Regions from separate parts of the Homo sapiens genome. Here all the other regions are linked to region 1. The links are contacts of gene promoters, found by promoter capture Hi-C in blood cells and fetal thymus (Javierre and others, 2016). All regions are on one chromosome and are shown on one strand. The core of a region is centred on a gene start or on the middle of the fragment in contact, and the rest is flanking DNA. Distances in the headings are between cores, read along the strand shown. Region 1 holds the start of RPTOR (regulatory associated protein of MTOR complex 1). Region 2 overlaps RPTOR (regulatory associated protein of MTOR complex 1). Region 3 overlaps RPTOR (regulatory associated protein of MTOR complex 1). Region 4 overlaps RPTOR (regulatory associated protein of MTOR complex 1). Region 5 holds the start of CHMP6 (charged multivesicular body protein 6). Region 6 overlaps RPTOR (regulatory associated protein of MTOR complex 1).

What was found. The method cuts DNA at HindIII sites, captures the fragments that hold promoters and counts their contacts. A CHiCAGO score of 5 or more calls a contact.
Region 2: a fragment that was not itself captured here is called in contact with the fragment with the promoter of RPTOR in region 1 in 7 of 17 cell types (naive CD8 T cells, naive CD4 T cells, total CD4 T cells and 4 more); the score reaches 8.1 in naive CD8 T cells.
Region 3: a fragment that was not itself captured here is called in contact with the fragment with the promoter of RPTOR in region 1 in 5 of 17 cell types (activated CD4 T cells, naive CD4 T cells, non-activated CD4 T cells and 2 more); the score reaches 6.6 in activated CD4 T cells.
Region 4: a contact is called between a fragment that was not itself captured here and the fragment with the promoter of RPTOR in region 1, in 1 of 17 cell types (naive CD4 T cells). The highest score is 5.8, in naive CD4 T cells.
Region 5: a contact is called between the fragment with the promoter of CHMP6 here and the fragment with the promoter of RPTOR in region 1, in 3 of 17 cell types (naive CD4 T cells, megakaryocytes and activated CD4 T cells). The highest score is 5.4, in naive CD4 T cells.
Region 6: a fragment that was not itself captured here is called in contact with the fragment with the promoter of RPTOR in region 1 in 8 of 17 cell types (activated CD4 T cells, total CD4 T cells, naive CD4 T cells and 5 more); the score reaches 10.1 in activated CD4 T cells.

The regions. Positions count from the first base shown.
Region 1 is chr17:80,543,505-80,546,204 of GRCh38, forward strand. It overlaps RPTOR (regulatory associated protein of MTOR complex 1), which reads left to right and starts at 1,334. Exons shown (of 34, transcript NM_020761.3): 1 at 1,334-2,287. The coding sequence starts at 2,126. RefSeq lists enhancers at 1,028-1,854, 1,188-1,547, 1,828-1,927, 1,855-2,681. The HindIII fragment of the contact is 2,750 bases long and covers 1,021-2,700 here.
Region 2 is chr17:80,875,714-80,878,677 of GRCh38, forward strand. All of the region lies in intron 13 of RPTOR (regulatory associated protein of MTOR complex 1), which reads left to right. Among named protein-coding and RNA genes, the nearest start is that of CHMP6, 110 kb to the right of the region's middle. RefSeq lists enhancers at 1,612-1,661, 2,879-2,964. The HindIII fragment of the contact is 5,418 bases long and covers 1-2,964 here.
Region 3 is chr17:80,815,705-80,818,688 of GRCh38, forward strand. All of the region lies in intron 7 of RPTOR (regulatory associated protein of MTOR complex 1), which reads left to right. Among named protein-coding and RNA genes, the nearest start is that of CHMP6, 170 kb to the right of the region's middle. The HindIII fragment of the contact is 7,384 bases long and covers 1-2,984 here.
Region 4 is chr17:80,854,017-80,856,974 of GRCh38, forward strand. RPTOR (regulatory associated protein of MTOR complex 1) reads left to right here. Exons shown (of 34, transcript NM_020761.3): 12 at 1,448-1,531. Among named protein-coding and RNA genes, the nearest start is that of CHMP6, 140 kb to the right of the region's middle. RefSeq lists enhancers at 1,229-1,760, 1,761-2,291, 1,954-2,958, 2,473-2,767, 2,504-2,653 and 2 more. The HindIII fragment of the contact is 2,558 bases long and covers 248-2,805 here.
Region 5 is chr17:80,990,302-80,993,123 of GRCh38, forward strand. CHMP6 (charged multivesicular body protein 6) reads left to right here and starts at 1,540. Exons shown (of 8, transcript NM_024591.5): 1 at 1,540-1,680. The coding sequence starts at 1,618. RefSeq lists silencers at 1,433-1,762, 1,893-2,042, 2,053-2,242. The HindIII fragment of the contact is 12,121 bases long and covers 1-2,822 here.
Region 6 is chr17:80,925,397-80,928,175 of GRCh38, forward strand. It overlaps RPTOR (regulatory associated protein of MTOR complex 1), which reads left to right. Exons shown (of 34, transcript NM_020761.3): 24 at 1-84. Among named protein-coding and RNA genes, the nearest start is that of CHMP6, 65 kb to the right of the region's middle. The HindIII fragment of the contact is 946 bases long and covers 910-1,855 here.

The DNA of each region.
Region 1 (2,700 bases), core at 84-2,583:
TATTTATTTATTTTTGAGATGGAATCTCACTCTGTCACCCAGGCTGGAATGCAGTGGTGTAATCTCGGCTCACTGCAACCTCTGCCTCCCAGGTTCCAGCTCTTCTCCTGCCTCAGCCTCCCGAGCAGCTGAGACTACAGACGCACGCCACCACGCCCAGCTAATTTTTGTATTTTTATTAGAGACGGCGTTTCACCATGTTGGCCAGGCTGGTCTCGAACTCCTGAACTCGTGATCCACCCTCCTCGGCTTCCCAAAGGGCTAGGATTATAGGCGTGAGCCACGGTGCCCTGCCTACATTTGGTTTTATAGTCCACCTTACACAGTTCTCTATACATTGTAAATGAGCCAAATTTCCTGAATTGAAAAAGAGAGTCACACAAGAGGCTTGCCTCCACGCACAGACATGTAGTTTTAGATGTCTGCACGTGAAGCTATATCAAAATAAGAATAAACTACTGCTACCAAGAAGTGGGAAAAAAATTTAAAAAGGATAAACTGCTCAGAAAACGAAACAGATTAAACAAAAAATTGTATTAGATGAAATTTTTTTTCATCGAATCTTGCTCCAGACTCTTCTTCTGTTGCTTCAGACCCTTCTTCATCTGAAGAGTCTTGCTCTGTCTCCCAGGCTGGAGTGCAGTGGCACGATCTTGGCCCACTGCAACCTCCGCCTCCCGGGTTCAAGCAATTCTCCTGCCTCAGCCTCCTGAGTAGCTGGGATTACAGGCGCGCACCACCACGCCCAGCTAATTTGTGTATTTTTAGTAGGGACGGGGTTTCACCATGTTGGCCAGGCTGGTCTCGATCTCTTGACCTCGTGATCTGCCCGCTTCGGCCTCCCAAAGTGCTGGGATTACAGGCGTGAGCCACGGCGCCCGGCCTTTCACTTGGTTCTCTATGAAAAAATTAAAGAGAAAATCTGATTGACACTGTGGAGGACACTACACTCCAAAAAAAAAAGTACTATATTTTCTAATATTATCAGTGCTTTTTAATATTTTCTAATATTATCAGTGAAGCTTTTGCCGCTTTTTCAAAATCTGGAAGAAACAAGGCGGTTGATTCCTTTAATTTCAGGAGCATGTAACTTCATTTATAATGACAATGTTTTTGAAAAAATAAATTAAACCGACAGTTTCATTTGTAGGATTGACTTTAATAACACGCCTCTACTGAACAAATGGCGATTAACTGGGGAAAACGGAATTATGGTAACCGAGGTAACGGGGTCGGGGACTCTTTCTCCTTCGCTGCATGCTGGGTGGCGGGGAGAGACCGCTCTGAGGAGGTTTGGTCTGTCGGCCACGCCGTAGGCCGCGGTGCATTCTGGGTCCTGGCAATATGGCGTCCTCCTTGATGGGCTGATGAGATGAGTTTCACTGTAGCTCCAAACCAGAGGGCAAAGCTCCCATGACCCAATAAGCCCACATTGTCCCTTTCCTCCGTGGTTCCGTGTCGCCCGTTTCTCAGGACTCGTTCTCAGGCAGGAGAGAGCCTCGGGGCTGAAGGCCAGGACCAGCCAGGCCGCGCGGACCTGAGGTTGAGGAACCGGGTGCAGGCGAGCACGATGGGCCGGTCGTGGCTCTGGTTGCAGCAGCTCAGACGAGTGCGGGACCCGCAGGGCTGAGAGTGGCTGGAGGAGACCCAGGGCCCTTTGAACCCGATCCCTTGGCCGGAGACCTCAGCCCAGTCGGCCCAGTGGGCGAACCGGCACCAAGAGCGGCCTGCCTGTCTTCGGAACTGCTGAGGCGGTGGAGGCCGAGAGCAGGGTCATCGTGAGGCCTGAAGTCTCTTACGCTTTTGGCAGCTCCCCTCGCAGCCCCTCTGGAAACGTACAGCCTCAGGAGCAGCCAGTGGCTTGGGACCTGGGGTGGTGTGTGTCTGCGGAGCTTCTTGGGCTGCCCCATTTCCTAGCGGCCCCCACCTCCCCACTTCCCGCTCAGAGTTAGAGATAAGGATCTCAGACTTTTGCCTGAGTAAGGGTCTCCGCACTCTTTATCCATTTGGTTTTCGATTTCCCGTTTTTGTTTCTTATTTCACCAATTCTGGTACACGCTAGTTTTTAAGGCTGGAGGTTCTCGAGCGCTTGCTGCCAAGGACTCCCCCACCCCCTCCCCCACTGATGGAGTCCGAAATGCTGCAATCGCCTCTTCTGGGCCTGGGGGAGGAAGATGAGGCTGATCTTACAGACTGGAACCTACCTTTGGCTTTTATGAAAAAGAGGCACTGTGAGAAAATTGAAGGCTCCAAATCCTTAGCTCAGAGCTGGAGGATGAAGGATCGGGTAAGTGGATTCTGAAGGCACCCCTTGAACTTGGTAGTTTCCCCAACAAAGAAAGTTTACAGCCCGAAAAGTGTCCTTGGGAAAGCGCCGACATTTCCCCCTAGCCACACGTTGTAAGTCAACTAGAAAGCAAAAGCCATTTCAGACTGCAGTTTTTGGTTGAAAATGGAAAATGCTGTTTTGGTTAGTCATTATTCACTGGGTAGTGTTAATTCAATTCCAACTAAGTTCTAATTCAGATAATAAAAGTTAAGCAAATTTGAAAATAGAGCATTGCGAGTATTTACATGCTCTTTGGCATACTACTTAGTTCTGTAAACACTTAGAGGAAGGACAACGTGCGATATAATCTTTATACCCACATGATTAGTCTACTTTTTAAAATATCCAAGCTGGGTGAAGTGCAGAAGTCT
Region 2 (2,964 bases), core at 338-2,837, 330 kb after region 1:
CTTCCACCGAGCCCGTGCCACGCAGGGTGTGTGTGTCGCCTGCCGGGTCTTCACACCGAGCCTGTGCCACGCAGGGTGTGTGTGTCGCCTGCCGGGTCTTCCCACCGAGCCCGTGCCGCCCAGGATGTGTGTGTCACCTGCTGGGTCTTCACACCGAGCCCGTGCCACGCAGGGTGTGTGTGTCACCTGCCAGGTCTTCCACCGAGCCCGTGCCGCCCAGGATGTGTGTGTCACCTGCTGGGTCTTCACACCGAGCCCATGCCACGCAGGGTGTGTGTGTCACCTGCCAGGTCTTCCACCGAGCCCGTGCCGCCCAGGATGTGTGTGTCACCTGCTGGGTCTTCACACCGAGCCCGTGCCACGCAGGGTGTGTGTGTCACCTGCCGGGTCTTCCACCGAGCCCGTGCTGCCCAGGATGTGTGTGTCACCTGCCGGGTCTTCCACCGAGCCCGTGCCACGCAGGGTGTGTGTGTCGCCTGCCGTGTCTTCCCACCGAACCCGTGCCACGCAGGGTGTGTGTGTCGCCTGCCGGGTCTTCCACCGAGCCCGTGCCACGCAGGGTGTGTGTGTCGCCTGCCGGGTCTTCACACCGAGCCCGTGCCACGCAGGGTGTGTGTGTCGCCTGCCGGGTCTTCCACCGAGCCCGTGCCACGCAGGGTGTGTGTGTCGCCTGCCGTGTCTTCCCACCGAGCCCGTGCCACGCAGGGTGTGTGTGTCGCCTGCCGTGTCTTCCCACCGAGCCCGTGCCACGCAGGGTGTGTGTGTCGCCTGCCGTGTCTTCCCACCGAGCCCGTGCCACGCAGGGTGTGTGTGTCGCCTGCCGTGTCTTCCCACCGAGCCTGTGCCACGCAGGGTGTGTGTGTCGCCTGCCGGGTCTTCCACCAAGCCCCTCCGCCCAGGATGTGTGTGTCGCCTGCTGGGTCTTCACACCGAGCCCGTGCCACGCAGGGTGTGTGTGTCGCCTGCCGGGTCTTCCACCAAGCCCCTCCACCCAGGATGTGTGTGTCGCCTGCCGGGTCTTCCACCGAGCCCGTGCCACGCAGGGTGTGTGTGTCGCCTGCCGGGTCTTCCACCGAGCCCGTGCCACACAGGGTGTGTGTGTCGCCTGCCGGGTCTTCCACCGAGCCCGTGCCACACAGGGTGTGTGTGTCGCCTGCTGGGTTTTCCACCGAGCCTGTGCCATGCAGGGTGTGTGTGTCGCCTGCCGGGTCTTCCCACCGAGCCCGTGCCACTCAGGGTGTGTGTGTCGCCTGCCGGGTCTTCCACCGAGCCCGTGCCATGCAGGGTGTGTGTGTCGCCTGCTGGGTCTTCCCACCGAGCCCGTGCCGCCCAGGATGTGTGTGTGTCGCCTGCTGGGTCTTCCCACTGAGCCCGTGCCACGCAGGGAGTGTGTGTTGCCTGCTGGCTGCCGTTCTGCGCGTGTGTGGTTTCAAGTCTTGTTTCCTCTTCTGTTTAACGAGGCCCTTGGTCTAAGTGTGCTTGTAATTTGGGCGAGTGAGCAGCAGCCGAGAGAGTCCACCCCAGTCCCCCTAGCCAGCGAAGTGGGAGCTCCCAGGTTCCTGCCTGCGGGGAGGGTGGGGGCGGTTTGAGTTAGTGAAAATGTGTGTATTAAACAGATATGTAAATGACCCCTGCCGAGCGCTGAAAATGAAGGTATGAAAAGGCATCATCATCCGTGGTTCCCACCTGGCATAATGACCGTATCAGAACAGACATCTGGTAGTATACACCACATAGTTGCCAGACTCCGATACCAAGGGCACATCTAAGTTCTCCCACCCTGATTTGCATGCCTCAAATTCAGAATTAGTGAGATTTGAGTCAGTGATGCTTCATTACACTCTCGTGAGACATGTTTGAGGAGCTTCACCGTGAATGTGTGGGCTTCGATTTGACTTGTGGAACCTGTGGTTAAAACAAAGGAAGGTGCCTTCATTCTCAGAACCCAGTGCTTTTTCTGTTGCCCTGGCCCTCTGGGCTGAGTCTTTACGTGGACGGCGGTCGATGCATCTCAGTTTATTTGTCAAAACCTTCAGCTAAAGCCAGTTGTTGCTTGAAAACTGCCTGCTTAATTGGCCTCCTCAGCTCGGGGGAGCAGCTTGCAATCTGAGGCCGGCGCCTGGCTCCCTGACCACCCGCTCCCCATCGTGCTCAGCTCTCATTCCAGCAGCCCAGCCCATAACCCGCCTCATCAGTGTATTGATGTGAGGCAGAAACACCTCATTGTAAGAGCACCCCTGAGAAATGGCGGGGTTAGGGGCTTCTGGGCTGCATAACCAGCAGATTCCCTCTGCAAAACTGCTCCTGCCTCAGTGGGAAAGGGCCAGCTGTGCAGGGCTGCACTGGAGAGCCGTTCTCTTCTTGATCCTCAGGCATCCAGTTCTTAAAATTCCGGCCCTCTGTCCTTGCATGGCCTTCGTCCTCTGGAAAGGAGCATGCTGGGAGCTGGCAGAACGCACGCCTCACTCTGTCGATGCAGTGTCTGTCACTGCTCAGTTTCTAGGTATTGATCCTAGAAACCCATGCTCTGTGGGTCCCTCTCCAAGAAACACAGCATCCATGATTTGTACATCGCACTGCAGTTTCAGACTGCTTTCACATGCGTGGTTTCATCTCTGACTCCACGACCTGAGCACAGATTTTTTTTTTTTGAGACGTAGTCTTGCTCTGTCGCCCAGGCTGGAATGCAGTGGTGCGATCTCAGCTCACTACAGCCTCCGCCTCCCAGGTTCCAGCGATTCTCCTGCCTCAGCCTCCCGAGTAGCTGGGACTACAGGCACGCACCACCACACCCTGCTAATTTTTGTATTTTTTAGTAGAGACAGGATTTCACCATATTGGCCAGGCTGGTCTCGAACTCCTGACCTTGTGACCCGCCTGTCTCAGCCTCCCAAAGTGCTGGGATTATAGGCATGAGCCACCACGCCCAGCTGAGCACAGATTTTTAAAACTTTACCTGGGTCC
Region 3 (2,984 bases), core at 481-2,980, 270 kb after region 1:
AATAAAAGAAAAAGAAAGTAAGGGATTCGTTGAGCACCAAAGAAATTTAGAGGAAGATCTCAGCTGTCATCCTGTGCTGGACAGTCCGTCACGTGCAGAGCATCCTCCCGACTGGCGAGGTGGCTTCCACGTGCCCCGTCAATCAGGGCTGGACAGTCCGTCACGTGCAGAGCATCCTCCCGACTGGCGAGGTGGCTTCCACGTGCCCCGTCAATCAGGGCTGGACAGTCCATCACGTGCAGAGCATCCTCCCGACTGGCGAGGTGGCTTCCACGGAGCGATTCTCGAGACCCGAGGGGCGTGGACACAGCTTCTACGCAGGCAGTCGGAGAGCCACTGGGCTCTTGGCCCTCACTCCTCCAGCCAGAGGAGTTTTGCTTTCCTTTGTCCTGCATAAGATTTTGTTTGAGTAGCTAAAAAGTAATGGAAAACCACCACAATGATCAGTGGAGAACCTTGTATGTTTGGGGGCCCAGCTGTGTGTTAAGAGCCATCAGCCTGTGTAGCGTGAGCCAGGGCAGAAGGGCCTGGCCCGAGAATGCTGTCTGGACGCCTGGCAGGCCTGGCTGCAGGGTGCCGCAGAGGAGGTGGGAAGAGGCATCTTTGGGAGGCCTGGCTGGCCCCAGTGCAGGACCAGAGAGCAGCTGAGGGCCTGGGGCCTCCGGGGTTTCGAGCCTCAGTGAAACGCGAATCCACAGGGACTCTTGGAGTGGGGACCAGCAGTGGAGAAGATGGAGGCATTGCACTTGATTTTACACACGTTCCGCTTGAGCTGTGATGCCAGGCAAGCCGAGGGTGAAGGGAAGCGCCTTGTCGTGAGACCTGGAAGGAGCAGGGCTGCCGCTGGAGCAGATCCTGGGGTGTGAAAAGAGCTGGCGACGCAGTGCTCCCAGAGGTCACTAAGGGAGGAGCCGGGTGCCAGGGGAGAGACAGTCAGGATTTGCAGATTCAGCAAATGAAGAAAGGCAAGGCTGGCCAGCCACTGGAGTGAGGGGGCTTGGGAGGAGGTGGCTTGGAAGGGCGGTGAGGACAGAAACCAGCTTTCGCATGGCAGGTAAGAGGAGCCTACGGGGGCCAAGGAGAGCTTAGCTAGTGCCAGCTTCAGGGCCACATGGGTTTTCCCCAGGGTAGACAGGCATAAGGCCCCAGCGGCCACTGCATGTTGAGCCCCAGCAGCCAGTGGTCTCCCCGGCCCATCCCTGGTCCTCCCATTCCTGCGAGGCGGCTGCGGGGTCTGGGTCTGGTTTCTGCCACTTGTCTCTAGTGGAAGACACACCCTCATAGAGCCTCAGTTTCTCCATCTGAAAAGCAAGTGAACATAAGACCTGCCTGGCGTGGGCATTGGGAAGGAAGTCTTGGTGGACTTGGCAGGTGGGTGACTTGGGGGCCTGGGTCCACCGAGCCGCACAGCGGGAGGCACGGCATGAGTGCCCAGCTGGCAGCGGTGGTGGAGGTAGTGTAAATGTTCATGCTGAAGAAAATCCAAGCCTCTGAGAGGCTGGGCAGCTAGTCCACAGTCACAGAGCCAGTCTCTGGCCAAATTCAAGCCCCCGTCTGTCTGGCTCCCAAGTTTAGGCCTGGAAGTGAAGGAAAAGGAAGGCTGGGGGTTCTGCAGGGGAGACATCCTGATGACCTCACAGCCCCTTGTCCTTGTCCTCTGCATGGATGGGGCCAGGGACGGCAGTGAGGCGGCCACCCCATGGGGAGGAGATCATGTGTTGCGTCTCCTGAGTGCAGACGGAGCTGAAGGCGCCCCCGAGAATCCAGGTGAGAGCAGGAACCTGGAGAGACTGGGAGGCAAGCACCTGCCACGTGGGCACCTGTGAGTGAACCGGGGAGGGACAGGGCCCCAAGGAGTGGGTGGCACCTCATGCTGGAAGTGGGGAGCAGGCAGAGTGATGGGGCAAATGACAGGGAGCCGGGCAGGTCCGGGAGAAGGGGTGGGGGAGGGAGCACCCTTGGGAGAGTGACTGTGATGGGCTGTGATCCCTCAGGCATCTGGTGGAGAATCAAAGGCGAGGGCTGGAGACACAGCAGCTCTTGTTGAGTGACAAGTTCCCAGCAGAGGGTGGTGGTGGGGACAGCCAGGGGTGTCAGGGAAGAAGAAGGGGCCTTAGGGGAAGGGCACCTGCTTGGCATTTCGGAGCTGGCCTGGCACTCTACAGTGGTTGCACAAATGGGGTGTGGATGCTGAAGTTCTGCCAGAGTCTAGCAGGGCCGGGGTCATCATGATGACCTGGATGTTGCAGTAAGGAAGATAAATCCTGGCAAGAAACCGCATGCCACAGGTGAGCCCGGAAGTGTGGGGGAAGGTGGAGATAAACCCTCCTGCCAATGGCAGTGAAGGAGAGTTTGAGGAGGCGCGGGCCCTGTTGGGGGGCCACCCCGGCATCTGCCACATCTGTTGTTGGAGTGTCATCTGTTTTATTTTAGTCGCCATTTTGCATCAGGGTCAGCTGTGTTGACTCAGCAGAGAAACAGGTACCACGAGTCATCCAGCCATAGCACGGCTGGGACCAGCGCTTGAGTTTTCTTGTCTCCCAATTCAGGAGTCTTTTCCTGAACTGTAGCTTTTTACAGTTTTCACATAGAAGTCCTTGATTAACACTCTGAATTTAAATTTTAAAAGAGCCACCTTGATCATTAACCCTTTGAGGGTTCAGAGAAACTTCTAGAATGAAACATGGTCTGACATGGACAACATACACCAATAGGCTTCTTCTGTGGTCCCCTCGTGATCTCAGTGGCCTCCCGAGTTGGGCAAGACTCAGCATTGGTTAGGATCAGGTACAGAAAGGAAATCAGAAACAAATCGTTTCTGCAAGGATTTAATTTTATGTGACGTGAAAAGTGAGGGATGCTGGACTCGGTTCCACCTTGTCACCCCCAGTAGGACCAGGCCTGCTGGATCAAGAAGCCTCATCAGCTTTTGCTCACTGGATGGTTGGTTCATCGACTTGAATGATTTCTGGGTCTGTCTGAAG
Region 4 (2,958 bases), core at 277-2,776, 310 kb after region 1:
AAAAAGTATGTGCAAAACCTCTGGCAGAGCCCACTCTAACTTATAAAGAACTCTGACATGTCAATAAGAAAAAGCCACATTTTGAAGTAGAAAACTAAACGCATGCAGGGCAAGTTTACTGGGGAAATGGCCCATCAACCTGCAAAATGTACTCCCCTTGAAATCCAAGAAATCCAGATGAAAAGGATGTATTTTCACCTGTCCTTTTGGCTAATAATAGTGTAATATGGGCTAGTATTGTCCCACAAGCTTTAAATTTATTATTTAATTTAATGAAACCCTTGTGGGCAGGTGTTGTGTTATATGTGTTTTATGAATTAATAAATCAAGGCTCAGCGACGTTAACTTGCCCAGAGTCACACCGCAGTGAGCGCTGCTGGGTGACCAGCTCAGGCAGCAGGAAGCTGGTGCCCACGTGCGTGCCGTCGAGAGTGTGAGTGGGTTCAGCCTCAGGGTCATTTGGTAACTTAAGTATATATGCTCCGACCTTACCTTTTTAATACTCACATTTATCTTAGTGGAAAAGAATCATGTACATGTGCCGATGTACCCATTAGGATATTGATCACAATCTTCTTTATCAGAGCAGCATTTTGGCCAGGCATGATGGCCCACGCCTGTAATCCCTACACTTCGGGAGGCTGAAGCGGGAGGGTTGCTTGAGCCAGAAGTTCAAGACCTGCATGGGCAATGTAGTGAGACCCCCATCTCTATAAAAAATACAAAAATTAACCAGGCATGGTGGTACATACCTGCGGTCCTAGCTACTCAGGGTTTGAGGTGGGAGGATCACTTGAGTCCAGGAGGTTGAGGCTGCAGTGAGCCATGATCTGGCATCTATACTCTAGCTTGGGCAACAGAGCAAGACCCTATCTCAAAAATAAATAAATAAAAATGGTAAAAGTAGGAACATTTTGATGATAATTTAAATATCTATCACTGGGGAAGTTGTTTAAAAGAATTGTGTACATTTGCATAACGGAAGTACTGTGCCGCCTTTGGGAATAATATGGTCAGTACATACCTACTGATATGAACAATGTTCACAGTGCATTGTTTAGTTTAAAAAGGAGCTGAGAAATAGAATCACATATTATCTAGTTCAAGATCAGTAAGAGAAGTGTGGACATAAAGAACAATGTCTGAGTTCATATACCTAAATGTCACCAGTGGGTTAGCTTTTTAAATGCAATTAAAGCATGTTTGTTCTAGTATTTTCTACATTGAGCATCTTTTATCTGTGTAATAAAGGCATAAAGCGTGTTTTCTTCACCTGTCTAAAAGCATGAACTTGTAAGGAAAGGAGCACCAGCTCTAGGTAACTGAAGCAGCAGACAGATCTGAACTGTGGTCAGACCGCTCCAAAGCTGGCAGCTCATGCAGCAGCGTTTCGGGGTTGCACACCAGTATGGTTTGCAGTGATACCATTTTCTTCTTGTTCTTCCAGGTGCTGTTAAGCCAAGTGCACCGGCTGAGAGCATTGGACTTGCTTGGAAGATTTTTGGACCTGGGTCCCTGGGCAGTGAGCCTGGTGCGTGCCTTCCGCATTAACCTGGGGGCTGAGGGAGGTGGGACAGAGATTAGGCTCCGTGTTTCAGTCTGTGCACGTATTTCATGATCCAGAGCCACCCCCAGCCGTGAGACCCAGGGCGAGTGTGTCCACCGTGTTGGTGTCCTGTCACTCCTGAGGCCCTCAAGGAGCCCACTCTGTACCCGTGCAGCCTGCAGTGCTGCCTGGCGTTTGGGGGTCTGGGGTTGTCGCCCCTCTTTATGTCTGATGTTAGACATAGGAGTGAGTGTGTTGTCGGCCGGTCACCTTTTCCTGAGCCGCCCCCAGCGCTGCGGAGGAGCAGGGCGCCCCTGAGCCTGACGCAGCACCCACCTCGTGGTGCTGCTTCCCCCAGGAGGAGTCTGGATCCTCAGCACTGTCTGCTCACCATCATGGCAGGCACAATTCGGAAACGCTCTTCTGGTTCCTCATTCTATAGCAGAGTAGTAATGGCCACTAAAAACACCCTGGCAGAGGCAGGATCAAGAAGCGACGTGCGTTTAACAAATAACTCACAGGGAAAGTAAAAGGAGGCTGAGAGGGAACCACAGAGTCAAGGAAACTCGAGAGACCTATGGCCAGCTGCCATGTACAGTAAACCTTACTTGGTTCTGTTGAAGTTCCAAAAATGAATACTCATAAAACAATTAGAAATTTTACAGGTGCTGGATTTATGTTATTCAAGAATCATTGTTCGTTTTTCTTGGGTGTGGTAACTGGATCATGTTTTTATAAAAGAGACCTAATTTTTTAGAGATAGACACTGAATATTCACCAATGAAATCACATGACATATGAGCCTTAATTTACTGTGCTTGGGAGCGGTGCGGTGGGGCGGTGGGTGCGGAACCGCTGTCACTAGCTGGGTGGTGAGTACCTGGGTTTGGTGTATTTAAGTATTTTCATCAGATAATGTTGACAAAGAGTGGTAATTGATAGTCCAGCACTGAAGGACGAGAGAAAACATCCAAAACTTGGAAGAATCATTCAGCACTCACCACTGGGCCATTTTCACTCCAGGTGCCTGAGGCCACAAATAGCTTGTAACAGAGTCAGGGCCTGAGTCATCGGAGGAAGGCTGGCGTGACTCGGTCACTTGGTGTGTGCGTGGTGGTGTCGCTTAGTCATCCTGGAAAGGCCTGCGTGGTATTGCGTGCACTCTAAGAAGACAGGAAGCATGTATTCATAACAGTTTAGAAAGAGTTTCATTTTTAAGGTTAATTTTTTAAAACCAGTTTCTTCCCTTTAAAGAATTAAGCTTCTGCTCATTGGAAATTTGCCTAATACATGAATCGAGGCTGGATAAACGAGGTATTTTTACAGGTACAGATTTTGCCTCTCAGGTGAGGGCCCAGCCACCCGAACCAGAGAAACTGCTCATACCTTGTTAAATGTGGCCTTTCACAGGG
Region 5 (2,822 bases), core at 290-2,789, 450 kb after region 1:
TGCTGGTATTACAGGCGTGAGCCACCACACCTGGCCAGATGGAGTCTGCTAGAGTCTCGGGGATTTTATAGGGACAGGATGGGGGCGTGGCAGGCCAGGGTGGTCTTTGGAAATGCAACATTTGGGCAGGAAAACAAAAATCCCTGTCCTCACCTAGGTTTGTGGGCACAGGCGGTGGGGGGATCCCTAGCCAAGGATCACGCCTTCCTCTACCCAGCTCTTCCTTCCCCCTTCATGAGGAGCAGGGAGTAGCAAGTCTTTTTTTTTTTTTTCCTCAACGTCCCCATGGACACCAAGGAAAAAAGTACTTCAGATGTCTTGGTGAGACAAATCAGAGGGTGGGAGATGAACCCCACAAAAATTCAGGGGCCCCCTCACCTCAGTGAAGGTTCTGGAGTCCAGAGGTTTGGAACAGGTGATAATTATTCTCCTTTTGATGTTATTTGTTATATTTTTTGTAGAGACGGGGGTCTTGCTATGTTGCCAGGCTGGTCTTGAACTCCTGGCCTCAAGCCATCCTCAGCTGAGTGCTTTTCTTTGACACTTAGTGAATGCTCAGGAACCACAGTCAGGATACTCAGGCGGGAACCGGGGTGGCTTCTCCCTTTTACCCTTTATCCCCATTCATGTGTTTCTTAGCCCCCCAGGGAAGAATGCTTCTGTGGGGGACGCAGCCACGATTCCTTGGAAGGAGAAGCTGAGCCCAGCCATGCTGGTCTCCTCCTGGCACTGATCTACAGACAGGGAGCAGCGCAGTGGAAGAGGGAAGATCCCAGGGCTGAAAGGCTGGGTGGAGGGCGCTGCTGGTCGCATTTCAGGGAACATTTTAAAGTGCAAAGCGGGCCGGGTGCGGCGGCTCACGCCTGTCATCCCAGCACTTTGGGAGCCCGAGGTGGGTGGATCAGAAGGTCAGGAGCTCAAGGCCAGCCTGGCCAATATGGTGAAACCCCGTCTCTACTAACAAACATTAGCCGGGTGTGGCAGCAGGCACCTGTAGTCCCAGCTACTCAGGAGGCTGAAGCAGGAAAATCACTTGAACCCGGGAGGCAGAGTTTGTAGTGAGCCGAGATAGCGCCCCTGCACTCCACCCTGGGCGACAGAGCAGGACTCCATCTAAAAAAAAAAAAAAAAAAAAAAGTGCAAAACGTTGGATATCACATCATTAATGCGGCATTTTGTGTTCAGAGCCAGTGGGACAGTGATTCCTGCACAAGATTCCTGAAAGCCTGGGGAGACTGAATTATGTTAATCTAAAAGGATCCCACCTAATTAGGAGATAAGAAATTTTTGCCTTCACCTGCACAGGAAGGGTGCACGGAAACACGTCATTTAGAACATCCCGGGCCCGAACATCGCGGGCCCTAACATCCAGGTATCCGTGCCACTTCTCCGTACCGGTCCAAGGAGGCCGCGGTGTTCGCGGCGGTCGCCGAGACCGGCGGGCTGTGGTTTCGAACCCGCGGCAACGGCGCGCGGCCGGAGGCGGCGCTCGGCCTTCGCGTTCCGCGGCGCCTGGCCCGGCGCGGCCGCCGTAGCGGGAGGACCCGAGCTACGGTGGCCGCGGGGCGGCGGTGGCGATTGGACTTGGTGGGTCCCGGGCCAGGGGCGGGCGCCGCCATGGGTAACCTGTTCGGCCGCAAGAAGCAGAGCCGCGTCACGGAGCAGGACAAGGCCATCCTGGTGAGGGCCCGGGCCCGGGGTCAGGGCTGGGGCCGGGACAGGCGACGGGGCCGGGGCGGGCGGCGGGGCCGGAAGAGCCCCGCGCCCTCGGCCCCCCGCGTTCGGATGGGGAAACTGAGGCGCAGCGCGCAGCCGGGCCCCTCGGTCTCTCCGCCCTGCGTCCCTCCTCGCCCGCGGGGCCTCGGGCCGGGGTCTCCTGCGCGGCGCCGTGGCTGCCGTCTTCCCCGGGGCCCGCGCGTCCGCCTCTGCGAGCCCCGCCGGGGTGGGCGCGGCTGGTGACTGCGGGATTCGACGCCGGCGTTCGGGGCTCGGCCACAGCCTGGCGGCCCGTCCGTGGGGTCCGCGCGGCGCTGGGCTTTCCCTGGCTCTGGGCCCGCGGGAGCAGGTCCCGGCTCTCCCGGAGTCGCTGCCCCCGCCCCCGTCCCGCGGCTCATTTGCCTCCTGGTGCCCTGGGCCGGAGCCCCGGCGGTGCTGCCGGCTTCGCGAGGCAGCGCGGGGCATCCCCTCTCCCTCACCCCATCCAGGCCAGGACTGGAAGGAAGTCTGCCCTGGTCCGAGGAGCGGCCGACAGGTGCGCCGAACGCCTGCCGGGGTCCTGCCGGGGTCCTGCCGGGCTTCCGCAGCGCCTGGGTACGGGACCACCGTGTTTGGCGCGTTTGTTTGCGGCGACTCCAGACTGACCCCCCGGGGCACAGCCGGGCCGGTGGTGGTGCCTTTTCCCATGTGAAAGTTAGCTTCTGTAGGAGGAGGAATCGCCTGGCATGTCAGGGACAGGGCGGGTTAAGAATAGTCCATTTTTGTAACGAGATAAACGTGTCACGAAAGAGACCCCGAAATGAAAGCAGGGCTAGCTTTTTCGGATGCTTTCTTTTCTAAATTTTGTGCAACAGAAATAGGTTAATTTTATACTAAAAGAGAAGCGAATGTAAATGAAAGAGGGAATCTTACGTTGGCATCTGAGTCCATAAGCTGTGAAAAGAAACAACGGGCACATTTGTCCCTAGAGAAGATGGGCACAGCGCTGGGCACCGTCCCGAGCTGCCTGCAAGACAGCTGGACCCAGCCTCCATCGTCCACCTTCCACCTACCCTGCCAGCCCCAAGGCACTCCCTCCCCTCTCTTTAAGGACTCAGCTCCGGTTT
Region 6 (2,779 bases), core at 133-2,632, 380 kb after region 1:
GGACACAAAAGTTTCATCTCCGCCACGGTGCAGACGGGGTTCTGCGACTGGAGCGCCCGCTATTTTGCCCAGCCCGTCATGAAGGTGCGCCCGGGGTGTGGGGTTCAGAGTAGAGTCCTAGCGAACATGTGTCTGTCCCACTTCTTTGAGCATAAACGCTCAAGGCTTGTGGCTGTGGGAGCGTCCCATTGTGGTCGTGGTAGTGATGGTCACGGTTGAGGTAGAACCGCAGAAGAAACAAACTTCACTTACCTTCCTGTCGCCAAACGAAAAGAGAAAACCTGCCTCGCTGGAGCTTCCCAGTGTGACAGGTGTCACTTTGCCTTAACTGACAGGGTCACCACAGGCCTTCCCACTCCCTAATGGTGAGGATCACTCGAGGCCCATCCCAAGGCCACGCTTGCGTGGCTCCGAGGTCTGGGGACTGTTAGACGCAGCCTGCTGCAGCCAATCCTAGCGCATTTGGGGTTACACCACAAGACCATCTCTGAGGCTCAACCCTGACACAGCCCTAACAAGCGCCGTGTGCTGTGGACGCAGTGGCTGTGTTCCTGCAGGCTGGGGCAGGGCGGCGGCTCTCGGCCTCTTCGAGGAATGGGGCGGGAGCTGCTTTGTCAGCACAGTCCCAGTGCTCATCTCTCTGCCAGGGCCCAGCAGGGACTCGTGGAGATTTTCTATAAATCTAAAGTGCATTCTGAGCAAACCTGCCTCTTCCCTCATATATAATTGAAAGCTGAAACTCTCAGCTTATTCTCGATTGTATATCAAGCTTGCGTCTTAGTCATCTCTGTGAATGGTATTTGGACCCCATGACAGCTCAGTCCCTGTGGTCCTGTCTTCATAGTGAATGCTGATTTCTGTTCATAAAAACAGAACCATCAGGCAGCCCCTGAGGCAGGCAAGCCATGAAGCTTGAACTACGGAGCCCCTTTACTGCAAAGAGAGAGGAGTTCGCCTCCCTCTTCTCACATGAACCTGGGTGGACAGTGGCCTGGCTGTTCTAGAAAGCGTCTTGCCGGGAAGCATCAAACGCCTTAAATAGCCGTTCCCTTTGACCCAGTCATGAATCTGCTAAAATACTGTCTTGAGAAAATAATCAGAGATGTAGATGACTTCCGTGTTGTTTCTAAGAACGAAAATTGAGATTCACTTAAATGTCCACAGAGGGTGAATAGTTAAAAAGTTATGAAATATTTGATGAGATATTATTGGAGCTACTGAAAAGTTAAACATTAAAAATAGTGTCCTAAGGAAGCGCTCATGACAACATTCCTTAAAAAGAAAAAATGCAAAATGCAGACCAAGAAGCCAGATTTACAGAACAATCACAGCCGTGCTTCTCATACAGACACAGATGTGCATACGACGGAGACCAGCAGAGCCCGCTCCTAACTAGAGATTCGCAAATGGCGCCACCCACGACTGCACTGAATTGGGCTTCTTTTGTGCCTCTTCTGCAGTTTCTACACTAAGCACGAAGCACCTTTAGAGTCGGGGGAAAAGAATCAAAGAAACAAACCCCAGGAGATCATTGAGGCTGGTGGATTCAGTCCTAGTCAGAAGCCCCTCACCAGGCCCACCTGCTGGGCTCACCGCTGCTTACCTGCGGGTGGCATGAGGGTGGCGGCCCCTGCAGACAGAGGGAAGTGCCCCTTCCCATCACTAGGAGGCTTCTGGTTAGGAAAGGAAAGCATACACAAATCCTGGAATTGGATGCAGGAAGCAGGAGCCACCCAAACTCTGAGTGAGCCAGAGCTGGGAGGTGGCTGGACACTGTGCCAGGGGTGCCAGGCCGTCCTCTAGAACTGCGGCCCAGTCTGTTGAAAAGTCAATGGAATTTAGTCTAATGTTAACAAGCTTGGTGTCCTTGATGCGGTCTCGTGCTTAAGGCAGACAAGGTCAGGCGACTAAGAAACCCACATGGTCTGGTCTTCGCTCTTGCTGGGATGGCAGTGGCTGTACATGTTGGTAATTTCTTGGTGTGATAACGAGAGGCTTTTCTTGAAGTCCTTGAAAAATGCCTATTCTCAGTCATCTATCCTATGATGAAAGAGGAATGGCATAGATAATCCAAAACTCATTGCTCTTAAACTTAAAAATGAATTTGACTTTTCCCCAAAGGATTTGCTTTCCTTTCCTAAGCATTTTTAAGTACACAGCAGCTGATTGCAGGAGGAAGTTCCCCAGAGGCATGTGGAAGGCCGTGTGTGTGTCTGTCTGTCTGTCTGTCTGTCTGTCTCTATGTGTGTGTGTGTATCCCTGTGTCTGTCTGTGTGATGTGTGTGTGTATCTCTGTATGTGTGTATGTGTATCTCGTGTGTGTGTCTGTGTGTTTCTGTGTGTCTGTGTGTGTGTGTCTATTTGTTCCGGTGTGTGCAAGCCCCAAGCCAGCGTCTCCTCTCCCTTTCTTCAGATTAGCAGCCCCTCCTCCGCCTGCCCTCATCTCCTCCATTTGCACATCTGAGAATTCCCGCCCGCACGGAGGAGCTGGAGGGTGTCAGCCTTGTGGTCTGGCCCTGCCAGCAGGTCCTGCTGTGTGGACACTGCAGAGGAGATTAGTCCAAGGGGATCCATGTAGGAGCTGCCATCACACAGGAGGTTGATCAGGAAACGGTTGCTGAATGAGTAAATGATTGTCTTCCTCTGCCCCTGCCAAGTATTTGAAAACAAATGCTCACTTGGTTGTCGTTGAAACAACAGGCTCTGGGTGTCATGATGGAAAAGAGCGCCGTGTTGTGGTCGGCGTCGTCTGTAACTCCTGATAGCAACTGCAGTCTTA